Linked DNA regions of Homo sapiens: all the other regions are linked to region 1. The links are contacts of gene promoters, found by promoter capture Hi-C in human tissues and cell types (Jung and others, 2019). All regions are on one chromosome and are shown on one strand. The core of a region is centred on a gene start or on the middle of the fragment in contact, and the rest is flanking DNA. Distances in the headings are between cores, read along the strand shown. Region 1 holds the start of PSMA1 (proteasome 20S subunit alpha 1). Region 2 overlaps COPB1 (coat protein complex I subunit beta 1). Region 3 overlaps COPB1 (coat protein complex I subunit beta 1).

Region 1 (3,788 bases), core at 472-2,971:
TTTGTATCTCCTCTTTTTTCCTCCCCACTGCCACCCCCTACCCTGGTAACCACTGTTTTACTCTCTCTATATATATATTTGCCCTTTTAAACAAAAGATTCCACATATAAGTGAGAGCATGAAACATTTTTCTTTCTGTTTCTGGCTTATTTCACTTAACATAATGTCCTCTAGGTCCATCAGGAAACCTATTTTAATTATAAATGCAACTTCCAAGAACGTCTAAAATAATTATATTCCATTTTCCCCAAGCCTACGCTCTCACAAGTTTCTAAATATATTGCAGCCACAAAAAGCCACTTCACAGAAAAGGTTTAAAAACATTATTTTACCTGGGGGCTCCAAACAGTGACATCATTGTCATACTGATTTCGAAACTAAAAGTAAAAGAAAAAAATACCTGTTAATAGAAGAACATTTCAAATCCCAACTCTTAACATTCATTAAGAAATATGCTTGTATTTCCATTCAATGTTAAGGCACTCTGTTCATGCAGTCTTACTGGAAGATTACTACTGTACTCAGATGTAAGCCAATTCTACATTTACCATAAACTCGTGGGAGAGGGAGAAGCAGATCTAAATGGGTCCTATTTTTCCAAACTCTTATTCTAACACCCTCCATATCAACCCCTTTAGGCTCAATTACTAAAGTTCACAATCAACTTTCTTGCCTATTTTTGCTTATGCTGCTCCCTTTTATTGGGCCCTAATAAATGGTTAAAAGTCTTCCTTTTCTTTAAGGTAGCTTAAATGTCGATTTCTTGAAGTCTTCTCCTTTTCTTCCCAAATCCCCCTAACATATACTCCCACAGCTCTTTATCTAAACGTCCCTTTCTGTTTTTATGATTAGGGACATGTATGACTTATTTTTTAATGTTCACTGTAGTTATGCCTGTACAAGTGCTGTCTGTATATTCACATTGAATGAACAAAAATGTCCTCACAAAGTTAGAGGTGGACACAAATAGCTGCAGCGATAGAACCATTACGGCTATTACGACTATTATAATAATAGTCATGGGAGTGAGATTGAGTGCTAGAATGGCAGACAGAACTGGAAACCCAGAACCCTATATTGTAACCCTGATTCCATCACTTCCCCTCTCAGCCTCGGCTTACTCATCCGCAACTAGGTGACTGGACAAAATGATTGAAAAGGGCCTCTTCTAATCGAAGTCTAGGCGAGAGATAAATAGACGGACCCACCAGGAAAACGGACGCTGTCCAGGAACACAAACCTGGGGGTCAAGTCCGCACTGGTGGTACAGGTAGGCCTCCAAGTCAAGTCTCTGTCTTCTCCTCTCCCATACACAGCACTAGGAGCTATTCTGGACCGCTCAGAATCTACTCCACTGAAGGAACCTGAGGGGCGAACTCATCTAGCTGACCGAGGAGGAAGTGTCGGAGGCTCCCCGGGAAGCGAAAGCGGTGGAAAGGCCGCACTGGCTACCGATAACCCCTAGCCCGGCCAGGCCGGAGATGCTGAATCACTGCCGGAGCCCGGCCGTCTGCCGAGGCTCTCATACCTCGTGGCACCGGGCGACGCTAAGGATGACAGGAGAGGTGGCTCGTCATCCCCCAGTCACCAGAGCTCTGCCCTAAACCTTCCAGAGATCGGGATTCAACGTACCATGGTGGCGGCGCGGGCCTGGTTGCGGCCTCCAGCAAAACTGAGAATCAAGGAGGTGCTGCCGAAAGTATCGCTCAGCGATCTACAGAGAAGTCTGCGGGAGTTTGACGGCGGCGGCGCAGGGTAGCGCAGTCTATTCCAGAGATATCGATAGGCTTGCAACACTTCCCCCTCCTTAAAACTTTCCGACCGCTCGGCGGCGGGCGGAGCCTCGGAAGATCTAGGAACTGAGACTGGCGGGAAAACCTGGCTGGGAGTGCCGGCGGCTGAGAGCTGCGGGGCAGCCCCTGTCACGTAGCCCTTCTAGGTTCCTGTGTATGGCGGATTCCCTCCAGTTTCTCCCGCTGGCGGGCTGCATCTAAAGTCGTCCGAGTCAACAGCCGTGACTCTGGGTGATACTAGCTCTCATTAACCGTCCACAGATTTGGGGTGTTATGTGACTGAAAGGAACGAGGCTGCAGGAAAGCCACAAGATAACGATCCGTTTCTGTGTGTCAGCTGTATTCTTCCTCGAGTATCTTGTTTGTGTACATGCTTTTATTTGCATTAAGGTTGGTGCAAAAGTAACTGCGGTTTTTGCCATTTGGCAAAATACTTTGGAATGCTCTTCCTTATTCCCTGGAGATGTTATCTTTCAAGGGTCTGTTGTCGTTAACCCCTCATTGTTATTATGATTGATTTCTTCCACCAGACTTTGAACTCCATGAGGGCGCTAATGTCTTTCTATGCCCCCAAAACCAAGCATGGTACCTGACAGATTAGGCCACTGAGAAAAAATGGACACTTTCTTTCGATTTATCTATTTCGTCTTTTGAGAGCATCTTTCCATAACGAAATAGTCTGACATCCACCGGCTATTTATATTCTTTGTAAAAAAGAGACTGGGTGTGGTGGCTCACGCCTGTAATCCCAGCGCTATTGGAGGCCGAGGGCGGAGGATCGCTTGAACCCAGGAGTTTGAGATCACTATATTATTTTAATACAGTGGGACCTCGTCGCTACAATAATAATAAGAATAAGAATAAGAATAAGAATAATAAAAAAAAAAGGCTGGGCATGTTGGCATGGGCCTGTGGTCCCAGCCACTCGGGAAGCTGATGTGGGAGGATCTCTTGAGCCAGGGAGATCGAGGTTGCAGTGAGCCATGGTCGCGCCGTTGCACTCCAGCCCGCCTGGGCAATAGAGATTCTGTTTCAAAAAAAAAAAAAGCCGGGCGCGGTGGCTCACGCTTGTAATCCCAACACTTTGGAAGGCAGAGGCGGGTGGATCACGAGGTCAGGAGATCGGACCATCCTGGCCAACATGGTAAAACCCCGTCTCTACTAAAAATACAAAAATTAGCCGGGCGTGGTGGCGTGCCTCAGGAGGCTGAGGCAGGAGAATCGCTTGAACCCGGGAGGCGGAGGTTGCAGTGAGCTGAGATCGTGCCACTGCACTCCAGCCTGGGCGACAGAGTGCGACTCCATCTCAAAAAAAAAAAAACAAAAAACAAAGTACTAAATTGTTCTCCAGAAATGTTTTACCAACATATACTCTCAACAGTAGTATATGAGGTTACCTTCTCTAATTCATCAACACTGGTTATTGTCGTATTTCTGAAAAACACTGTTGATTTGGTGGACTAAATTAACAGATTAAATTAATAGATTGTTCTCTTTCGTTTCTCCAGGACCTAGCACAATGCGTAGCACATATTAAGTGTTTATAAATAGTGCTAACTGATTAAATAAATGCTCATTTAAAAATTGTCATATACTACATAAACATTTTGAAAATTCTTTCCATATATATCTCTCTAGTCACATGCCTCACACAGATGTGTAATAAATATACAATTTTTAAAAATAAGATGATACTGTTTTTATTAATACACTTAAAAAGTTATAGCTATCATATGTCCATAAGTAATGGTCTATATTATTTTCAATAGTCGCATAGTATTTTATTGTATGGAAATATAATAATTTGCTTAATTATTAGTGTGCAATTCAATTGTTTCCAAGTTATTGGTATCATAAAAATACTATAATGAATATTCTTGTACATACACACCTATTGTGTGCATAATTACCTTACCTGATGAAGAATTCATAGAAGTAGAATTGTGGGGTCAAAGGGAACTTACATTTACAGTTATGATAAATATGGCTGAGTTG
Region 2 (3,788 bases), core at 922-3,421, 62 kb before region 1:
CTGTGATTACAACACTAATATCATTAACAGGCTAAGTCACTTTTCCTGTCCCATATATTGTCAATAGGTCATGGAAAAAGGATTCCCTGGTAAAGTAAGGTTAGGATATACTGGGTTAAACCAAACTAATCTGCTTTCCTCTCAGAATCTCTGGTATGCTAATGTACATTGTGAATCTCCAGTGCAGGACAGTTTGAAGCTTTTCCCCAACTTACTTGACTATGGAATTACTTTTTCACTCAGAATATCTAATGACATCTAAGGAAGCTAATGTTCAGTAGAACAGAGTTTGGGAAATGATGATCTAATCCAAAGTTGCACCAGCTCCTTCGCTCTCATTGCAAATCTCTACCCTTGAATCGACATCCCTTCTCTGCACTTCCAGTATATCTTTCCCATTTGATAAGCCCTGGCTTTGTTCTAAGATCTCAGTGTTCTGGAATCTCAAATGCCCTGTAATCTAGGCTTTTTTTTTCTTTTTTTTTTTTTAAAAGCAAGTGGCTTCACAGTTTATGACATCATACAAGGTATCAATCTCCTTATACTCCAAACAAATCATTTCATTCTTAATGAAATAGGAGATGCTTTCAGTCTTTCACAGACCTTATCTAAGGACTCACAGGGAATGCAGCCTGAACCCTAGCTGGTAGACAAATAATAGCCTTAAGTTTAGACTTAGCTAAAAAATCAGACTACCTCAATCACCCCCAATGAAAGTAAAGGCCAAAAGGAAAGCACAATCAGACGCTGGGAAACTTAGCTTGGAAATGCATTTGGAATTATACTGCAGTGTGATGGTACCCAGTCCTAGTGTGAAGTGAGGAAAAGGAGACGAGTGAGTAAGGCACAGAGGCAACAGAGAAAAAGGCAGCTTTTTGAATCCTCTCTAGTTGAATCCTCCCAGTACCAGCTTCAGTAATTGGTTAGAACCAGTTTTATTCCTAACAAACATAGAACACCCTAAACTAAATGTGAGTAAGGCACGGAGGCAACAGAGAAAAAGGCAGCTTTTTGAATCCTCTCTAGTTGAATCCTCCCAGTACCAGCTTCAGTAATTGGTTAGAACCAGTTTTATTCCTAACAAACATAGAACACCCCAAACTAAATGTGAATGATTAAAAAATCTATTTTGGATTATCTACTCTTCATTATGATTCAGGATAATTAAGAACAGTATATCTATTTCAGTTCGGGTACATAATACTTCTTTAAACTGCAGAGCGATCTGTTTTCTCAAGTTATTTTGGGCCGGGTGCGGTGGCTCACGCCTGTAATCCCAACACTCCGGGAGGCTGAGGCGGGCGGATCACGAGGTCAGGAGATCGAGACCATCCTGGCCAACATGGTGAAAGCCCGTCTCTACTAAAAATACAAAAAATTAGCCAGGCGTGGTGGCGGGCACCTGTAGTCCCAGCTACTTGGGAGGCTGAGGCAGGAGAATGGTGTAAACCCGGGAGGTGGAGCTTGCAGTGAGCCAAGATCACGCCACTGCACTCCAGCCTGGGTGACAGAGCCAGACTCCATCTCAAAAAAAAAAAAAAAAGTTATTTTGATACTTTCTCCCTGGAGCTAAATTCAAGAGCAAATCCCTTCAAAACATGATAATGCATTTTTAGAGATAGCAATGTTGGAATATTAAATAAGTAAAAAACAACCAAGTGAATCAAGGCCTACCTTATTTTATATCATTGAATTTGTAAATTCTCTTAATAAAGCTGCATATATTCACAACTCAGTAATTTAAATTTATAATAGAAATTTATAACCCAACTAAAAGAAATCCATTGCCATATAACTAAAATTATGTAATCATTTATTTATAAAATAACAAAAATTTATGAATAGATCTGTTTATTGTACTGTGAAAAGGGTCTTGGTACATGAAACATTATATACTTTGAGGACAGCATTCAGAACTGTTAAGACAAAAGACAAACTATAATTTTAAACTCAATCTTGATTTAAGGGAAAGGCTATAAATTATTGGCTGAAAAGTATTCAGCATGAACTCAGATTCTATATAAGCATGAAAGAGTACAAAAGATGTTGGAGTCCAGTAAGCCCATACCTAAATTAACTGTAAAGCTTCAAGGACTTTTTGTTTATTTTTATATACTAGTTTTCTTCTGTGACAAGTTGATTTTATCTCCAAGACTTAAGGCCATTCCCTGTAAAGAAAAATTAAGATATTTATAATTATTTAAACTATGTACAATCAGTAGGTTATTCCATATTATTAAGCCCCAATTCAATTCAATGACACCATTATCAACAATAAAATCAAGGACATACCAAACAGACTTACCAAACTTTACTGGTAATTACCTTTCAGTGCTAGATTTTTCAAGCCGTCACCAGATTTTTTTTTTTTTTTTTTTTTTTGAGACGAAGTCTCATTCTGTCACCCAGGTTGGAGTGAAATGGCACAATCTCAGCTCACTGCAACCTCCACCTCCCGGGTTCAAGCAATTCTCCTGCCTCAGCCTCCCGAGTAGCTGGGATTACCGGGTGTGCGCTACAACACCCAGCTAATTAGTCACTAGATTTACACCTTGGCTTTCAAAAAATTCTAGAGAACCCATTTCACAAACACCCCATAGGAATCAATCTGGTTTTAGGCAAATATCCCAGAATGAGGGGCCCAAAAGGTGAGAAATTTTAATGAGAAAAGTTATACTTCTATTCAGAGTATATTATTATTGTATGTGTATATGCATCTAATGCTAAAAAGATACTACATATAGAAATAATAAAGTCATAAATTCCTCCCCCCTTTGTCAGTCCAGAGATACTCTCAAAAAAAAAGGAACTGTTACCTGGCTCTTTGCACGAATTCTTATATGGCCGGTAACAGCAGCATCTGGTCCCTGGTGAATTGGCTTCTCAATGCTGACATTTGCAAGTGCATCTTCACCAAATATGGAACGAGCATAAAGGTTGGCTGCCATAAAGCCACAGTAACCAGAAAGGGCCTGGAAAAAATTTGTGATAAATTCATTACTTTACCAGATACCTACATAGAGGCAAAAACCAAACAGCATAGGTGACTTTTTTTTTTTTTTTTTTGAGACAGAGTCTCACTCTGTTGTCCAGCTTGGAGCTGGAGTGCAGTGGCGTGATCTCGGCTCACTGCAACCTTCCTCCCAGGTTCAGGCGATTCTCCTGCCTCAGCCTCCCAAGTAGCTGGGATTACAGGCATTCGCCACCACACCTGGCTAATTTTTGTAATTTTAGTAGAGACAGGGTTTCACCATGTTGGCCAGGCTGGTCTTGAACTCCTGACCTCAAGTGATCCACCCGCCTCGGCCTCCCAAAATGCTGGGACTGCAGGTGTGAGCCACCACGCCCAGCCCCATTGGTTATTTATCACTTAAAACAGTACTTACATACAGGGTGGTGGTTACATAATCTTATGAGTTTGTCAAAACTCAACTATACATGTAAAAAGTGTGAATTTTACTGTGTATTATACCTCAATAAATCTGATGTTAAATAAATAGTTCTTAATCCGATTTGTATTTATATATTCTGTTTACTTAACTTGCTTGACTGCCTCCCATATCAGACCTTAAGCGCCATGAAGGAAGAGACTACTTTTGTTGGACTCAGTATATGCTGAATAAACTAATATATAAATTAAAACCTACTTGTTTGGTAGCAGACATTATTTTATTTATAAAATGAATATTATAACATTATAGAAATTTTACATAAAGAAAAAAGTTCCTTAGAGCTCCAGCTTCATTTTTCTTTCTCTCTCGTTTTTTTCATACATACACAAACATAGC
Region 3 (3,788 bases), core at 947-3,446, 44 kb before region 1:
TTGGAAAAATGATGCTAACAGACTTGCTCAACTCAGGGTTCCCACAAACCTTCATTTGTTTAAAAAAAAAAAAAAAAGCAATATGTGCAAAGTACAATAAAATGAAGTATGCCTGTAAATGCTATGTAAATAATTGTTACACTGCATTGTTTTCAACTTTCTATTATTTTTTACTGTTTATCATTTTTTAAAAAAGATATTTTCAATCCATAGTTGGTTGAATCTGCAGGTGCAGAAGCTGTGAATATGGAGGACCAACTGCATACCATTGTAAATGGGTGTTTGGTTAGAACGGTCAGAAGCTACAAAGCAGGCATGAACTACAGATGAGAATAACTTAAGAGACATTCTGGGATAAAACAGACAATGACCGAATGGATGCAGATGCTGGAGAGAAGGACATTTCCTTCACTGGTCCTGAACTAATCCCAGCAAACTGAGGTGACTTCATAAATCCTTTCTCTTCCACTGGAATAATCACATGACATTGTTATTGTATTACTTTGTCAATTTTCATTTTTTTAAAGCCCAAACAGAAGAGGAAGATACTTTATCAATTTTAGAGTAATATATTACTGTGTCCACTTCTGCTATTAAATCATAAACTCTTTCATGACAGAAACTTAGCATTAATTTTTGAGTCCCTCACTGTTCAATGCATATAGTAGGCACTCAATGTTTAATTGTTGGTTAAATGTAAAATAAATGAACTTACATTTTGCTTTTTCTTCTCCTGAACCAAAGCTACATAGCGCAATGCAATCTTGGTCAGAGTTGTGGCAAGGGAGGCAGCAACAAAGAAATCTCCATCCAGAAGGAATCCTCTCAAGGGAGGTCTGCAAAGCAACCAAGGAAAATCAAACCCACCAACTTGCTAAGCAGCATGCAGCTTCTGTATAAATGAATGATATAGGCCTATTAAACACTCTTATTACCATCCTTCAGTGATAAGGATACCTTAGCTAACTAACTCCTTAGCTCCCAGAAGAAAGAAGGAAAAAGAAAAATAATACATGACTTTAAAACTTATCTTTGGCCAGGTGCAGTGGCTCACACCTGTAATCCCAGCACTTTGGGAGGCCAAGGCGGGCGGATTACCTGAGGTCAGGAGTTCGAGGACAGCCTGGCCAACATGGTGAAACCCCGTCTCTACTAAAAATACAAAAATTAGCTGGGCATGGTGGCACAAACCTGTAATCCCAGCTACTCAGGAGATTGAGGCAGGAGAACTGCTTGAGCCCAGGAGACAGGTTGCAGTGAGCCATGATCGCGCCACTGCACTCTAGCGTGGCCGACAGAGCAAGACTCTGTGTCAAAAAAAAAAAAAAAAAAAAAAAAAAGAAAACTTATCTTTGAATGACACAAAAGCCATCAGAATATGGAAAGATACAATATTTAATTAGGGGCATACGTAATTGCAGCTAATGAAGTACCTCCGAATTCCAGCTTACCTGTTTATTTACTGGGTAAGCCTCAAATTCTTCTTCCATAAAATGGAGATAATATATTCTATCTCAAAGGCTTATTGTCAAGACTATATGAGACAAACTACTTAGCACAATGCCTAGCACTTAGTGGGTATTCAGTAAAATTTTAGGCAAAGATTTCACCATCTTCACCATTAAAATTTACTTAATAGAAAAATGCACAATTTTATTCCATCATTTAGAAATTGAAAAATCTTCAAAATGTTTTCAGATGCTAATAAACAACAAAACTCAAATATCTTCAGTTACCCCCACTTAGCATTTTCTGAGTAAAAATAATTTGAGTTTAAACAGAACAGTTATTTCCATAAAAACACTGGAAGGGACAGAGAATTAAAACCATCAATACAATTCCTAGGGGGAAGAACTTAAACATCCTCCGCTTCTCAAGTACCTTAAATGGCAAAGATTTTCATTTTGGTTGCAAAAGCAAGAGGAAAGAAATCATTTGACTGTCTTACATACAAGAGTAATAATAAAAGTAGTACAGCTGGCAGGGTATATGTGCCATAAATTACCTGTCTTCCTCTTTCTTGGTGGGTCTAGAACTGCTAAGGGCACTCTGAGTTGCATAGGTACCCATTTCAGTAACCAATTTCTGAACTGGCCCTACAGTTATTTCTTCTTCAGGTTTTAATTCACCAGCTTCTTTCTTTATTTCTGACTCTACAATTGGGATCTAAAAGTCAATTGGAAACATCATTTTAGTAATAGTATCAACAGCAAGCAAAATTATCTTTAAATATTTGATTGTTTCTCTAAAAAAGGCATTACCCTAATGGGATTTTTGGAACTGGGAACTCTGCTTTCAATTTATTTCCTTCCCAGGATAATGTAGTAGGTAGAATAGGGGCTTCAGAGATGGATATTCCAGGGTTTGAATTCTCACTCTGCCACTTACTACTTTGGACCTCAGTTTCTTAATCTGCTAAGTGGAAATCTTAATTCTTTCTACACATTTTACCTAATAGAAAAATGCATTGGACAGTGTCTAACACAAAGCAGATGGTCATTAAGTCGTATTCCTCTTCTTCATTCCTTTCCTTGAAATTTTAACCAAAACAGTACTCATCCTTCTAAAATGAAATAAATCCGACTTATTTGTACATAATAACCTCATCAACTAACTTTTAAATTAACTGAATGGCTATTATGTATTTATTACTCAATACCAGTCCATTACCTAATATAAGAGCACTAAGAGTATTTAATCATTACCTATTTTAATTTATTTTATAGGTGAAAAACACTGATGTCAAGTTAGGTTGAGGAACTTATATTCAAGGTCCTCCAGCTAACTGTCGACACAACAATGACTAGAACTAATTGTCAGGTCTCCTGATAATTAGTCCACTGTTCTTTCTATTCTACCATAAGGTTGTTAGGATGAAGAATACTGTCAGTTTTACTGCATAAATATTCTGAAGTCAGACTTACTCTAAGGCATTCTTCCTTCAGAATACAGGCTAAAGCAGAATTTTACAAGCTACTGCTTCTTTTTTTTTTTTTTTTTTTTAATAAACACAGAACATTTTGTTCAAACAAAATCTAACTCAGAAGTGTAAATAATGTAAGCAAATCACTATAAAAAGTCAGATTTTCCTAAAGGAAAAATTACCATATAAACTAACATTTACTAAAGTAAAACATACCTCTCCAAGGGACCTGCGGATCTCAGTCATCACACTCTGAATGTCTTCCTTGGTACTACAGTATTCTCCCAGGATCCATAATGCTCCTCGGTAAATCCTAGCACAATACAAGATCTGAAACATGAACTTGGCAGACAAATCTTGAAGCAGAGATCTTTCTTTGTTAATTTAAGCTCAAATAAAAACAAGGGCCAGGCACTCACGCCTGTAATCCCAGCACTTTGGGAGGCCGAGGCGGGCGGATCACGAGGTCAGGAGATCGAGACCATCCTGGCTAACATGGTGAAATCACGTCTCTACTAAAAATACAAAAAAATTAGCCGGGCATGGTGGCGGGCGCCTGTAGTCCCAGCTACCCGGGAGGCTGAGGCAGGAGAATGGCGGGAACCCATTCTCGGGAAGCGGAGCTTGCAGTGAGCCAAGATCGCGCCACTGCACTCCAGGCTGGGTGACAGAGCGAGACTCCGTCTCAAAAAAAAAAAAAAAACAAGGGCCAGGCACGGTGGCTCACGCCTGTAATCCTAGCACATTCGGAGGCTGAGGCCAGCGGATCACTTGAGCCCAGGAGCTCAAAACCAGCCTGGGCAACATGGTGAAACCCCATCTCTACTAAAAATACAAAAATCAGCCAGGCATGGTGATGCACATC

What was found. Contacts are between HindIII fragments. The study calls those that stand out against the background at their distance.
Region 2: a contact is called between a fragment that was not itself captured here and the fragment with the promoter of PSMA1 in region 1, in 1 of the 25 tissues and cell types used here (H1 embryonic stem cells).
Region 3: a contact is called between a fragment that was not itself captured here and the fragment with the promoter of PSMA1 in region 1, in 2 of the 25 tissues and cell types used here (H1 embryonic stem cells and mesendoderm cells).

Annotation. Positions count from the first base shown.
Region 1 is chr11:14,518,665-14,522,452 of GRCh38, forward strand. It overlaps PSMA1 (proteasome 20S subunit alpha 1), which reads right to left and starts at 1,722. Exons shown (of 10, transcript NM_002786.4): 1 at 1,633-1,722; 2 at 333-377. The coding sequence starts at 1,635. RefSeq lists enhancers at 1,515-2,129, 1,664-1,853. The HindIII fragment of the contact is 15,381 bases long and covers 1-3,788 here.
Region 2 is chr11:14,455,716-14,459,503 of GRCh38, forward strand. COPB1 (coat protein complex I subunit beta 1) reads right to left here. Exons shown (of 22, transcript NM_001144061.2): 21 at 2,817-2,972; 22 at 1,797-2,168. The coding sequence ends at 2,109. Among named protein-coding and RNA genes, the nearest start is that of COPB1, 42 kb to the right of the region's middle. The HindIII fragment of the contact is 5,216 bases long and covers 1-3,788 here.
Region 3 is chr11:14,473,780-14,477,567 of GRCh38, forward strand. It overlaps COPB1 (coat protein complex I subunit beta 1), which reads right to left. Exons shown (of 22, transcript NM_001144061.2): 12 at 3,140-3,236; 13 at 2,006-2,166; 14 at 716-836. Among named protein-coding and RNA genes, the nearest start is that of COPB1, 24 kb to the right of the region's middle. The HindIII fragment of the contact is 6,579 bases long and covers 1-3,788 here.